Linked DNA regions of Homo sapiens: region 2 is linked to region 1. The links are contacts of gene promoters, found by promoter capture Hi-C in human tissues and cell types (Jung and others, 2019). All regions are on one chromosome and are shown on one strand. The core of a region is centred on a gene start or on the middle of the fragment in contact, and the rest is flanking DNA. Distances in the headings are between cores, read along the strand shown.

Evidence for each region. The method cuts DNA at HindIII sites, captures the fragments that hold promoters and counts their contacts. A contact is called where the count stands out against the background at its distance.
Region 2: a fragment that was not itself captured here is called in contact with the fragment with the promoter of SMOC2 in region 1 in 2 of the 25 tissues and cell types used here (adrenal gland and heart right ventricle).

Annotation. Positions count from the first base shown.
Region 1 is chr6:168,437,813-168,444,570 of GRCh38, reverse strand. It overlaps SMOC2 (SPARC related modular calcium binding 2), which reads right to left and starts at 3,387. Exons shown (of 13, transcript NM_001166412.2): 1 at 3,117-3,387. The coding sequence starts at 3,200. The HindIII fragment of the contact is 15,076 bases long and covers 1-6,758 here.
Region 2 is chr6:168,518,639-168,525,396 of GRCh38, reverse strand. All of the region lies in intron 2 of SMOC2 (SPARC related modular calcium binding 2), which reads right to left. Among named protein-coding and RNA genes, the nearest start is that of SMOC2, 81 kb to the right of the region's middle. The HindIII fragment of the contact is 5,960 bases long and covers 1,292-6,758 here.

The sequences.
Region 1 (6,758 bases), core at 2,138-4,637:
GAGGTGAGAGGGTCTGAGCAATAACCAGGAAGTTGTGCAAAGCCATCAGAAAGTCACAATGAGAGACACAGAGGGCCTCATGGTGCCATTTCTAAAGAATGACTTTGGTGGAAAGAAGAGAGATCATTACCAGACAAAGTGGATTCTCTGAATCTTAAACATAAAGTAGCAGAGGTGAGCACACCAGCAATGCTGGACCCACCAAGAAAGCACACTCACCATAGGTGAGTAAGACAAATGCGTGGTCCTGAGAAGCCAGGTATGGCAAACTGAAAGCCCCAGAGAGGCTGACATATTTCCCTGCTTCTAGATGAGAAGAAATGAATGGAGTAGAAGGAGGCAGAGAGGCAAGCTTTCCTCCTTGGTCTATAGAGTCCCACATGGCTACTCCCACAAAGTCCACAGATACACCCAGAGCCAAGTGGTGTGCTCTGAGAATCTGCGGCAGGTGAAAATACTGCAAAGTTGAATCCACACACACCTTAATGCCACAACGCTATATGCATTGATAATTACGGTATCAATTGATAGCACTCTCTTATACGGACCCACGGCATGGGCACCATCAAAACAATGTTAGCTGGAGAACTCACATATAGTAGGCGCATTAAAAGCCCTACCTTTAATCCTCACCACATGCTTGAAAGAGATTATGTATTCTCATTTTACAGATAAGGGGACTGAAGATTATGAAATTAAGTAACTTGCCTGAAGTCACACATCCAGCAAGACCCTAAGCTGTGGGTCCCACCCACTGCATGGACTGATACTGCCTCTTGATTTATTAAAGTAGGTAGGATGCAAATCGTAGGGAGAGAAGGCCCTTCTTTGAATGAGGGCCTCCGGAGACAAAAGAGATTTCCAAAAACCAGAAGGCAATTTGAAAAGAGATGAGCACACTGAAAAATCCTGCACATCTCACATCTCCCAGCGACCAGTCAGATTTCAGGCCTGCCTCAGTTACTTTGTAACTCAACTACTTCTTGATTTTCTAGACTGGGGGTGGGGTGAGAAGAAGTGTGCCAAAATGTGTTATGGCTTTAATCTTTTCTTCGGGATACTGATTTTATTTGCAAATGTAAATTTCAGGCAAACTGTTCTTGGGGAATGCAGCCAACAGGGCAAAGCCCACGTGGGGTATCAGCTCCTGCACAGAGACCCCACATGCAGCGGGTCTCACCGCAACCCAAGACATCCTTGGGGCAACCTCAAGGGGGCAAAAGGTGAGAGGGTTCAAGTAAATAGTTAGATGAGACAGGGGAGAGAAGACAAGAAAACCTGCCGAGTCTTAAACTGTTCTAATTACTAACTACCTTGATTCTGCTCTTCCAGGGGGGACCAACAGGCCCAACCCCACCCCCCACACACACAGGGCAGCAGGCAGATGGCAGTCTCTACTTTTTGCGCTTTCAGAAAATCTGAAAATCCGTGGCAACTGTAGGTACCTGCTGCTACAGTCCTGGAAGAAAATGCTATGATCTCCTTTGGAGAATTGGCCTTAGTTTCTCTGTCTCCTCTAGTGTGCTTTAAGAGTATGTGGGGGGTCTTTTTGTGAGTGTATACGTGAGTATATTTATGTCTAGATGCATGTACAGATGTGCATATACATGAATGCCTCCAGTGAGTATCCTCTGAGGGCCCCCTCTGGGGAGATAAAGGATCTTCAGGGAAAGCCTGAGTGTGTGAAAACCTCCTTGGAGCCCCAGTTAGCAGTTTCTAATCTACAAGTCATTTGTGAGACACAAGGCAGGGACCCCGGGCTGCTGCAGAAGAATTTGAGGTATGAGCAATGAACTCACAAACCATCCTTCACACTGCTAAAACGCAAAAGAAAGAAGACGAAGAAAAAGAAAAAGAAAAAGAAAAGATGCCCACATGACTGTTTTAAATTTGCTGAAAGGCAGAACCGACCACAGCTTATTTCAACCATCTTTATTTTCAATACAATAAACACCTTTAGGACAAGTCCCCGGCCACTTAAAAAAGACGGCTGTCCACCAGAGGCGTTCTCACTACCTTCGTGTTTTCTCAAACACTTGTTCAAAAACACATTTAAGTGGAATGTTTTCGTTTCTGGCGATTGCATTAATGATGGGTTTGCAAACCCTGCAAGCCCAGGAGGACGGCTGGAGCTGGGGGCTGCAGACACCCGGCCTTGGCCCAGCGGCCGCCGCGGGTTGGCTTGGCCGGCGGGGGCTTGGCTCAGCCCCCTCTACATAGCTCCTCGTTTGACACCGCGTGCGTTGGCCGGGCCAAGGCTGTCGCATAGAAGTTACAGCTCAGAAAGAAAAACACACAGCGGTCAACCGCGGTGACCCTCGCGCTCAGGAGCGCAGCATCCCTGCCACGAGGAAGAACCCAGAGGCCCCGCAGAGCGGGGAGCCGCCGCCTGCCTCCAGTTCTGTCCTGAGAAGGGAAGAAAGCGCTTCTCTAATAACACTCAGGCCCGTGAAGAATCATCTGTAACCTCATCTGCTTCTTCCTCGGCTCACTTACGAGGGTCTCTGGGAGAGTCAGACCCACGAGTGGGGCCCACGACTGGCAGCCCCTTCAGCCGGCGAGAGGCCCGGGATCCGCGCGGCGCACGAGCCCAAAGCGGTCGGGAGAACACGCTCCAGGCCGGGTCCCCGTGGGCGAGGTGGGCGCCCAGTCCCGGCGGGTCTGTCTTGGCCTTGGGACAGTCCGCGGGGCGGCGCCGGCGCTCCCAGACCTGGTTCCCCACAGGCTCAGGCCCAGCAGTGAGTGCGGGACACCCGAGCGCACCCGCAGCTCCCACTTGTCCGGGGTCTGCAGGACCCCAGGATCCTCTCACAGCCGGGTCAGAGCCCCCGAGGCAGGTGGGGTCCCAGCCGGGTGGAACCCGAGGAGCCCGTCGCAGCCGCAGCAGGACCCCGGCGGGCAGGGTCCCCAGAAGCCCATCCCAGCCGGGTCCCAGGCGCGCACGCTGCGTCCTACCTGCTCCAGCCTCGCCGGCAGGCGAAGGCTCCACGGCCCCCGGGGCCACCTGCTCCCCGTGCCCAGGCGCCTGGGCCTGGAGCGGGGCGCGGGGACCCGAACCCGGCCGGCTGCAAGAGGCGGCACCACTTGAGCTCCAGGTCCCGCGGGCCCGGGCTTACCGTGAGCGCCGAGAACTTCTGAGCGGGCACCGGCGGGAGCAGCCCAGCGAGCAGCGGCAGCCAGCAGAGCTGGGGGAGCAGCATGGTGGCGGAGGTGGCGGGAGCGGGAGATCGGCCGCGTCCTGCGCCCTGGCACTGCAGCCGGGAGAGCCCAGTGGGCGAGCGCGGCTGGGCGGGCGCGTGGAGGGGCGGCTCCGCGATGCTCTCCCCACCGCTCCCGGCGGCCCGGCTGGAGCAGCTCCCCTGCAGGCACCCAGAGGTCCTCCGCGTTCTTTGCGTCCGCCCTCGCTCCTGTCAAATACCCCGGAGCTTCCCGGATCCTCCCCTCCCGCCCGCCTCTCTCCCTCCCCCTCTCCTCCCCCAGCCCCACCTCCCAGCGCCCGCTGCCGCGCCCGCTCCGCTCCGGTGCCCGCTGCGGCCCAGAGGCCTCCCTGGCGCGGGTCTGCGGAGCGAGAGGTGGAGCGGGGGCCACCAGGGCTGCGCAGTGGCCTGTCCGGGCTGTCTCTGTGCCTCCTTCCCCGCGCGCACTCTCACACACACACGTGCACACTTACACACACGCACACCCAGGCACACGCACGCACTCATACCCACGCGCGCGCACCCTCGGGGGGCTTCCAAGCACAACCACGGGACGCACCGCGCCCTCCTCACGCCCCAGGGTCCAGGCCCGGTCCGCGCAGGATCAGCCCAGCGGGACTTTTCATCCACAAAGGTTAACGCCAAGCCTTGGCCGGTCCCCAGACTCCGGGGTTCTCCTTGACCTCTGCCCTCTAAGGCCCCCTGGTCCAGCCCAGAACATTGCCTCTCAGAGGTGCTGAAGGATCAGCGGCGCTCCAGCAAAGGCAGCTGGGAACACATGTCCAGGAAAGGCTGCGCCGGGGGCAGCCCGCCTTTGGCATCTTTACACGGGGTTATCCACTGCAGGGATGGGGGAATTTAGGTCCTAAAGATCCGGGGTCTGACCTGGGCTGTAGCCTTGATCCTCTCAAGTCGGGGGAGCATGTGGTTGGGCATCATTCACAGACACATGTGGCTGTTTTTAAACAGCTCTGTCAAAGCATTTCAGGTGTTTGTGCGGGGAGCACAGGGCTTGTGGAGGTTGTAAACTCACCCACGAAGACTACGTTGGAAACCAGGAAATTTTTGCACACCCAGACTCTGGATAATATCCACTGCAGACAACATTGCTGACATAGTTTAGCCTTGGCTTATAACTTTACAGGAAAAAGCCCTAATTCTGTCTCACACAGAAAGCCAGAAGAGTGAAGATTTGTTCAAGAACAATGAATCAATTGACTTGTCAGGGGCATTGGGAAAAGCACAAAACACAGAAAATCCAAATCTGAGGTTTCATCCGATGTCTAGCCCACTGCTTTGGCTATGAACTTTGGGGGAGGGGGCTGTATCAGCAAGTTCTGGGACTGGCTGCTGAGGCAAAGGCAATGCTATTGCAACCTTTCCCACACAATTTTATCAGGAAAGTGATGTCCGTCGGGCCACGGAAAGACGGGAAAGAAATGCACCTTTTCCTGAAGGAGGGCTACTCTCAGAATTCTCCTTAAAATTCCAAAGCCCAGGGAATCTATTAAGCACTTAAACACATTCCTCCTGGTTTAAGGACTTAGAAGGAAATTATAATAAAACTCTTGAGGGACTGCTCCTGGGTCCAGAAAAACAGGTGAGCAGAGCAGCTGCAAATGATTAAGTAAATAGGAATCACTGTTAGGGAACTGCAGTGAAAATTAAAGTAAAAAGAAAATAAACACTACATACCACTAATTCTAAGATTATCCAAAGAATAAAATTTACACTCGAAGCTGACATACTTCCTTTAAGAAGTATTTGCTACTAAAGAACCTGTTTTTCACTTTCCACTTTGTTGAGAGTACTGCTCGTCAGAACTCAAAAGTTTGAAAGCATGTTCATTTATCCACCATCGTCCGCTGCAAGAATGGCAGACAAGAAGCAGACTTAATTATTCCCATTCTACAGATGAGGAACAAAAGTCAAAGGGGCCAAATGTCTTAGCCAGATCTCCTAAGCAACAAAATCATAAACAGAATGCAGATGTTAAAACCTGCAATACTGGCAAATCCATGTCACTTCCTCTGGCAATATGGAGAACAGAAGAAAATCCTTGGCCCTCCGTGCCTTGTATTCAAGAATCCCAACACGTCTTTCATGTAGCAACTCCAGAATCCTCTGGGAACTCTAGGAAGATAAATGAAATGCATTTGTCCAAAACTCTGACAGATGAGGCAGGTTTGGAGCCTTTGAAACCCCTTTCAAATCTGGAGGAGCTCATGTGTCCTGAATGCCAAATTTTAGTTTCTCAAAATTCTAGAAATGGAGTTTGGAGAGATAATCAGGTTCCATTTTTATGGAGAAAAACAATACATTTATTTAAAACACTGGGAAAGAGTTATGTCTGTCTTTTATTTGTAAGTCTCCAAGAAAGTTATTACTGGCAGGAATGCCAGAGAGCTGTCATGTTAGAAAGGATAGAAAAGTAATTCACTCAGTTCAAAGTTAAGACAGGAAGTGATCAGCTCTATACTTTCCAGAGAGTTCCTCTAGGATGCAGGAAGAAGTTCCCCTCTCTTGGAAATGTAGGTTTTTTTGTTTTTTTTTTTAATTAAAAAGTGATGCAGGGCCCATTCTAAAATGTGGCTTATGCATTCAGAATTTAAATGCCTGTCACTGATGAAAGTTACAATAAAGAACAGCAAGAGAAACTAATTACCAAAGACTCCAGCTGTTTTCACATTTCTAAACTAACTTTCCCTCTTAGGCCATTAGCAAAATGCTTTATCATGAGTATTGGCTTCCTTTTTATTTATTTTACTATGCTAAAACTGCAAAAGGATTTTATTTTCATTATAGAAATGATATAATTTAGTTATTATTTCTGGCTAATTCATGTTTAGCCAGAAAACTTTTTGTCAGCTATTTTCCCATCTCAATATGCCAAGCATAAGTTTAGTCAAATATCTCTTTGTTGATGCAGTGACTTCCAGAAATCCCCTCTGCCATCACTCTGAGTATCATCTGGGACTGAACTCAGGTCACTGTTCATACTCTGAGAATCACCCCACATCATCAGTCACCTGCCAGTCACTTATTAATGTTTTCTCCTAGTTTCTACTTAATCATGGGAGCAGGAGTTTTCACCGTTCACCTGGACTTTCTTAGGTAAGTTCTGTGTGATTTTCCTTTTAGACTACCCCCAGGCTGGACCCGAGAATCTGTAGTTCCCCAGGTTTCTGGAGTCTCTGTCCTCTTGTTGGCTTGTTCATTCTGATGACTTGCATCTTCCTTTTAACTTGTTCCCTTCAACCTACGGAAAAATGATGCAGGATCCCCACATCAATCCCAGGTTTTTAGCCCAAGTTCTGCAGCTTCACAAACCTGTGAGCCATATAGAAAGGAAACCACATCGGCAGAGTTGACAAAATCAGAACAGAGCACCGCCGAGGCTCACCGTCACCGCGGCTGCAGGATGAGGCCAGCGTTGACACACCACGTTGAAAAGTGGACAGTGGAGTTGTGTGTTTGATCCTTGGGCCTGACTCAATGGCTTTCTTCCTATTTTGATATATTTAAGTAACAGAGAATTTGGACTTTGTGCTCAACAAAATA
Region 2 (6,758 bases), core at 3,022-5,521, 80 kb before region 1:
GACCACAAAGTCGGTTGCTTACTGAAGCTCTTCTCAGCCTTCCAGCCCAGGGAGTGAAAGCTGTGAGCCCAGCATCAACCAGGCCCATCTTTCAGTGCCCCCAGGGGGAAAAGGCTTGTCCTAAGAACAGCCTCCCACCACAGGAGACGACGTCACGTTGGCTGCCATGGGCCGCCTCCCCGGAAGCAGAACACACATGCATGCTTTACTTCTTGGGACCATCACACCATATAGCTTATTTGAATTTTAAAACTTGAAAAAATGGCTTTCCTTTTTAAAAAACGTATTTCCAGATTTCAATCACAAGTGCCTGCATCTTGAGAGAGCACAAAGGCCGTCTCGACTCCAAGGACTCTTCTTCAAATGTTGTTCACTTCCGTCTTCAGATGGTGACTTTTTGACTCCCTCGTGGTTAAAGTGCTGGCTATGGCAAAATGCGATCCGATTACCAGCCCTGGGCTCCACCCGTCACAGCGGGCTCCTACAGGCTCCGCCTCTAACAATGCTCCAGGGCCTTTGTGCGACTCCTCTCTGGCTTTTGCAGAACCACCGGCCACATGCTGCATAGAGCATTACGGGCCTACACATCTGAGCAAACGCTCCTCCATGCATCCCAGCTTCATGCCTTCAGCTTTATTCTAAAGTCTGGCCTGGCCAGCCAGCACTCAGCAACATGTGGTTTTAATGCAGTCTGTGTTTTAGCTGAGGAGAAATCACTGCTTTGCTGGACTTCTGTCCTCGTTTTTTAGTATAACCTGTGGTTTTGACTGTCTAAAAAGGAAAAGTGATATGAGTTCCAGCTTGCGAGGTCTCCACGAGGTACAGATGGAGCTATAAATTAGGTCTAATATTTGAGCTATCATGGAACATGCCAAGAAAGCTAAGTTTTCCAAACTCCTGTGGGCTCCATTCTTGGCGTGGACTTCTTTTAAAGACTTCACATTTGCCACTGGTCAGATAGTTCTGAAATCTGCAGCTCTTGGGTTTAATAGAATATTAAATTCCAAGTTTACGTCTAGCCTATGGCAAACTATTTAGTCATAGGAAACAATTAAGACTTAGCATGAAATTACAAGGCCTGCATAAATCATCACTCAAAATAAACCTGCAGTCATCTTATGAAGTAAAACTGCTACAGGGTTGCGGCTTATTCCACAGATTTGCTATTCCTTATTCTGGATATCTCGTGTTAAATCAGGTTCAAGATCTTTACTACAGAGAAGTGCCTGACCAGCATCCGACAAGGTCCATTCTACCGAGAGGCACAAAATTGCCAGAGAATGAGCACTCAGAAACAGTCATGGCCCCCGTGTGTTCTCAATATCACTCTAAGCCATTATATGCTTGATACAGACATACCTTAGACTGAATTAAATGCCCCTCTTTATAAAAATCAAAATGTTAAACACACCCTCAAAATTATACTATTTCCAACTTTCCAACTTTTTAATCGCTTTGAAAGAATGGAATAGGATGCTTCAACACTGTCCCCTGGAAACCTTATTTACAGATGATGATAAATGTCTCTCCTTAATATATTTTTACTCTGTATGATTCTTTGGTTGAGTTAAAAATTAAGCAGAACCCTAACTGTTTAACAGCCTTGTTGAGATTCCACTCTGAACACTTTATGTTTAACTGTTTGATTATTAAATCCCCAGAACATAAGCAACATAATTTTTTAAATTACTGTATGACGGCCAGGTGCGGAGGTTGATGCCTGTAATCCCAGCACTTTGGGAGGCTGAGGTGGGCGCATCACGAGGTCAGGAGATGAAGACCATCCTGGCTAACATGGTGAAACCCCGTCTCTACTAAAAATAAAAATAATAAAAAAAAAAATTAGCCAGGCATGGTGGCAGGCGCCTGTGTTCCCAGCTACTCTGGAGGCTGAGGAAGGAGAATCACTTGAACCTGGGAGGCAGAGATTGCAGTGAGCTGAGATCGCACCACTGCACTCCAGCCTGGGTGACAGAGCAAGACTCTGCCACAAAAAAAAAAGAATTACTGGCCGGGCGCGGTGGCTCACGCCTGTAATCCCAGCACTTTGGGAGGCCGAGGCGGGTGGATCTTGAGGTCAGGAGATCGAGACCATCCTGGCTAACAAGGTGAAACCCCGTCTCTACTAAAAATACAAAAAATTAGCCGGGCGCGGTGGCGGGCGCCTGTAGTCCCAGCTACTCGGGAGGCTGAGGCAGGAGAATGGCGTGAACCCAGGAAGCGGAGCTTGCAGTGAGCCGAGATTGCGCCACTGCAGTCCGCAGTCCGGCCTGGGCGACAGAGCGAGACTCCGTCTCAAAAAAAAAAAAAAAAAAAATTACTGTACAACTACAAATAACATAAAATTTACCATCTTATCCATTTTAAAGTGAACGATTCAGTGGCATGTAGCACATTCATAGTGTTGGGCAACTGCCACCTCAGCCTAGTTCCAGAACATTCTCCTCATTCCCAAAAGAATGCCCGTTAAGCTGCCATTCCCCATTTCCCCCTCACCTCAACCCCTAGAACTATCCGTCTACCTCCTGTCTCTACAAATTTGCCTATTCTGGGCATTTCCTATCAATGCAATCACACACGAGGTATCCTTCTGTGCCTGGCTTCCTCCACTTAGCCTGATGTTTTCACGGTTCATGTATGTATGCTGATGTATGTCTACACCAGAGATGGTACATCAATGTAATCATACACGAGGTATACTTCTGTGTCTGACTTCCTTCACTTGGCATGATGATTTCAAGGTTCATGTACGTGTGTTCATGCATGTCTACACCATCAATGTAATCATACACGAGGTATCCTTCTGTGTCTGGCTTCCTTCATTTAGCGTGATGTTGTCAAGGTTTATGTATGTTACAGCATGTTTCAGAGCCATGTTCCTTTTTATGGCTGAATAATATTCTATTGAACAGATGGACCATATTTTGTTTATTCATTCACTCATGGATGAACACTTAGGATCTTTTGGCTATTGTAAATAATGCTGTTATAGACATGCAGATGTAAATTTTTGTTTGAACGCCTGTTTTCAAGTCTTTTGGGTAAAAAGTAGAAATGATGGAGTAGAAATGATGGTTCACATGGCAGTCCTGCATGTAACTTACGGAGGGAGTGCCTGCTGTCTGCCACAGTGCTAAACCGTTGTATGTCCAGCCAACAGACACAAGTGTTTATCCACCCAGAATTTATTTTGTCTTTGTTACACTGTTGTAACCATCTGACTGGGATGAAATGGTTTCATAGTACTTTGGCTCATAGTATTATATTACTATAATCAATGTCTACCTCAGAGAAAAACATCTTAGCTGGAAATTATAATATTAACACTTTAAATAAAAGTGTTAATCTCCTTCTAATTGAAGAATTTAGTCACTTTTTACTAGACCAAATAAAAACTTTCTTATGTGAATTTTGTCATCTATTTTTAGAAAATGTTTGCTCTTACCTGCAGAGCCGGGACTTTATAAAGAAAGAACTCATCATTGCTTAGCAAGGCATCACTAACAACAGGTTTTGTTTTGCTTTAGAGACAGGGTCTCTGTCGGCAAGGCTGGAGGGCAGTGGTGCCATCACGGCTCACTGCAGCTTCAACCTCCTGAGCTCAAGGAATCCTCTCACCTCAGCCTGCCCAGTAGCTGGGAAGACAGGCACCACGACTGGCAAATTTTTTAATTTTCGTAGAGATGGGGTATTGATTTGTTGCCCAGGCTTGTTTTGAACTCCTGGTGTCAAGCAATCCTCCCGCCTCCCAGAATGCTGGGATTACAGGCATGAGCCCCCACGCCTAGCCCTAACAGAAATATTTTGATGAATTTTTGGTTAATGATAGTTAATTGTGCAAGCAATTTATTTCTACCTGTTGGATGATATTTCATCTCTCTCAGTTACAAAACAAAATAGGCTCCAATCAGATTACAAGCTTGTTTACATATCAAGATATGTCATGGAGACCTGGCACAGTGGCTCACGCCTGTAATCCCAGCACTTTGGGAGGCCAAGGCGGGTGCATCACCTGAGGTCAGGAGTTCAAGACCAGCCTGGCCAACATGGTGAAACTCCACCTCTACTAAAAATACAAAAATTAGCCAGGTTTGGTGGTGGGCACCTGTAATCCCAGCTACTCAGGAGGCTGAGGCAGGAGAATCACATGAACCTGGGAGGTGGAGGTTGCAGTGAGCCGAGATCGTGCCACCATACTCCAGCCTGGGTGACAGAGCAAGGCTCTGTCTCAAAAGAAAAAAAAAGATATGTCATGGAAACCATTAAAATGTGATGCTCACTACAAAGTAGAAATGAAAACAGTGTTTTATAATGGTTACTTATGATGAGTGTTTTCTTTTAAACGGAAAGCAAATAATTCCCTACTTTGCTAGAATCTCTCAAAACAGGATTAGGCAAGAATCAGCAGAGATTGCTTTGCTGAACATTTTACAGAGATCTGGAGAGCAACAATTAAAAGGAACAGTTAAAAGGGATCTTTGAGAAAACTTTTCAAAACAGGGCCAAGAAACAGTGATCTTCACAGGTGATGATGAATTTGGTAGTCCTAAGCCCAGAGAGTTCCTCTCTCAGGGACTCCTGTCTGTAACAGAATCGAATAACATAAACACACTAAGCTAGGCAAAAGTGAATCAAAGTAACTCTTCCTGTTGGTCTTCCAAGATGCTTTGGTTTACACCAGAGATGGTGTCTCAAGACTTTGATGCCACTCAGCTTCCTACTGCAATAGGCAGAGAACTTTGGGACACAGGTAATGACTGTGGTGTCTCATTTATCGATATGGAAGGAGCAGCTAGCTGGATATGTTTCTGGTCAACAGATGCTCTGACTCTGGATCTCGCGAGGTCACTGAATGGCTATGATTATGGCCACGGCCATGTAAACTCTTCAAGTTCAGGCTCAGCTTGCACTGCCATCTCCCCATGAGCCAGTGCAGGGCTGGCCGGGACGGGGCTGGTGTGGGAATGCCACGGGCTGAACGAGCAAATGGCAGCCAGGCAGAGGACACATATGGTGTCTTTGTAGTGGCCACGGCAATGATAGCCCTCAGAGTGGCATGGCTTTTATTGATTTTGGCATCAAATGAAGGCAGACACTGTGTTTTAAAAGTTGTAGTATTTTACCCACCCGTAATTTTGAAGGCCAGAGTCAGAAAAACTAAGAATGCCATGCTGCAACACTCTCCAGCAGAACTGAAGTATTCTTTTCCATCCTAATATCCTAATATAGATGAAAGTGCTGTGATAAGCGCCCCCAACCCCAGTGGTCTGCAGCCCTTGGCCAGCAAAAGCAGCATGATGCATCCCCACAGCAGCAGACTAGCGCATCCGTCCAACCTTCCCTCAACCATGACCAGAACGACACCATTTCAGAGCTAAGGGAGACAGGAACGACATTTTCGTTTTACGTAAGTATTCTCTTTTTAAATGCATAAAGGCAGAAACAAAATTATAATAGGAAATCTCTAAATATGTAACTGAGATTGCCAAATTGTAAAGAGAAAGTTAAGAGAAACTGCAAACCATTGCAAGACTATATTACAGTATTCAGACAGCCTTTATAATATTTATACAAGAAACCACAGATCATGCCCATCTCTATGAAAATATCAGTGATTTGCAACAGATCGAAATGGATGATTGTGTAAATGGTCACTAAATCCTTTGCAGGAAGGCTGACTAGAACCTTCCAGAGGGCAGAAGCTCCCTAGGCTGTGCGGAGAGGCCCCTGCTCTGCTGATGAGCCGGTGCCTTGGGTTTGGTGGTGCCACTAAAGCAAACAAGGAAAGGCCCTTTGGATGTGCGATGTTCTAGGAACGTCCGGCTGTGTTTCTGATCACGGCTGCACACGAGACCGAAGGCCCTGAATCTCCTGTTATGTCTACCCCAGCCTGTGAGGAAGGGCGCTCCCAAACATCAGACGTGTTAAAATACCATAAGCGAGTTAAGGTAAACATACTCTGGGTAGAGTTTCTGCAAGACACAAGCACAAATCCGATTGAAGTTGCTTCTGATAACTGTGTCTGCTGGAAGAAGAAAATCCAACCTGGAAAGGGTGGAGCCAGGGATAAGCACCTGGCCCAGGAGCCCAGGGCACAGAAAGAATCACGGACACTAATGCTCACTCACACATGCACGCACGCACATGAACACACAAACATGCACGTATACACACTCTCTCACACACGCATGCATACACACACATACACATGCACGCATACTCACACATGCACGCATACACACACGCATGCTCACACATGCACACATACACATGCATGCATACACACGCGTTCACACACGCATGTTCACACATGCACGCATACATACACTCACACACATATGCATGCTCACACATGCACACATACACACACATGTTCGCATGCACGCATACTCACACATGCACGCATACACACGCATGCATACACACGCGTGCACGGATACACACTAACACACATGCAAGCATATGCACGCACACTCATGCTCACTCACACATGCACGCACACACACGCATGCTCAGACACATGAATACATTCATACACAAGGAGGCACACACACGCATGCACACTCATGCACTCACATAAACATGCATTCACACACAAGCACATACATGCTTTCACACATGCACACACGCACATGAACACACACACATGCACATTCACACACATGCACACTCACATAAGCATAACACTCACACATGCACGCTCATACACATTCACACACAAGCACACTCTCCATACATACACACCCACACAAGCATAC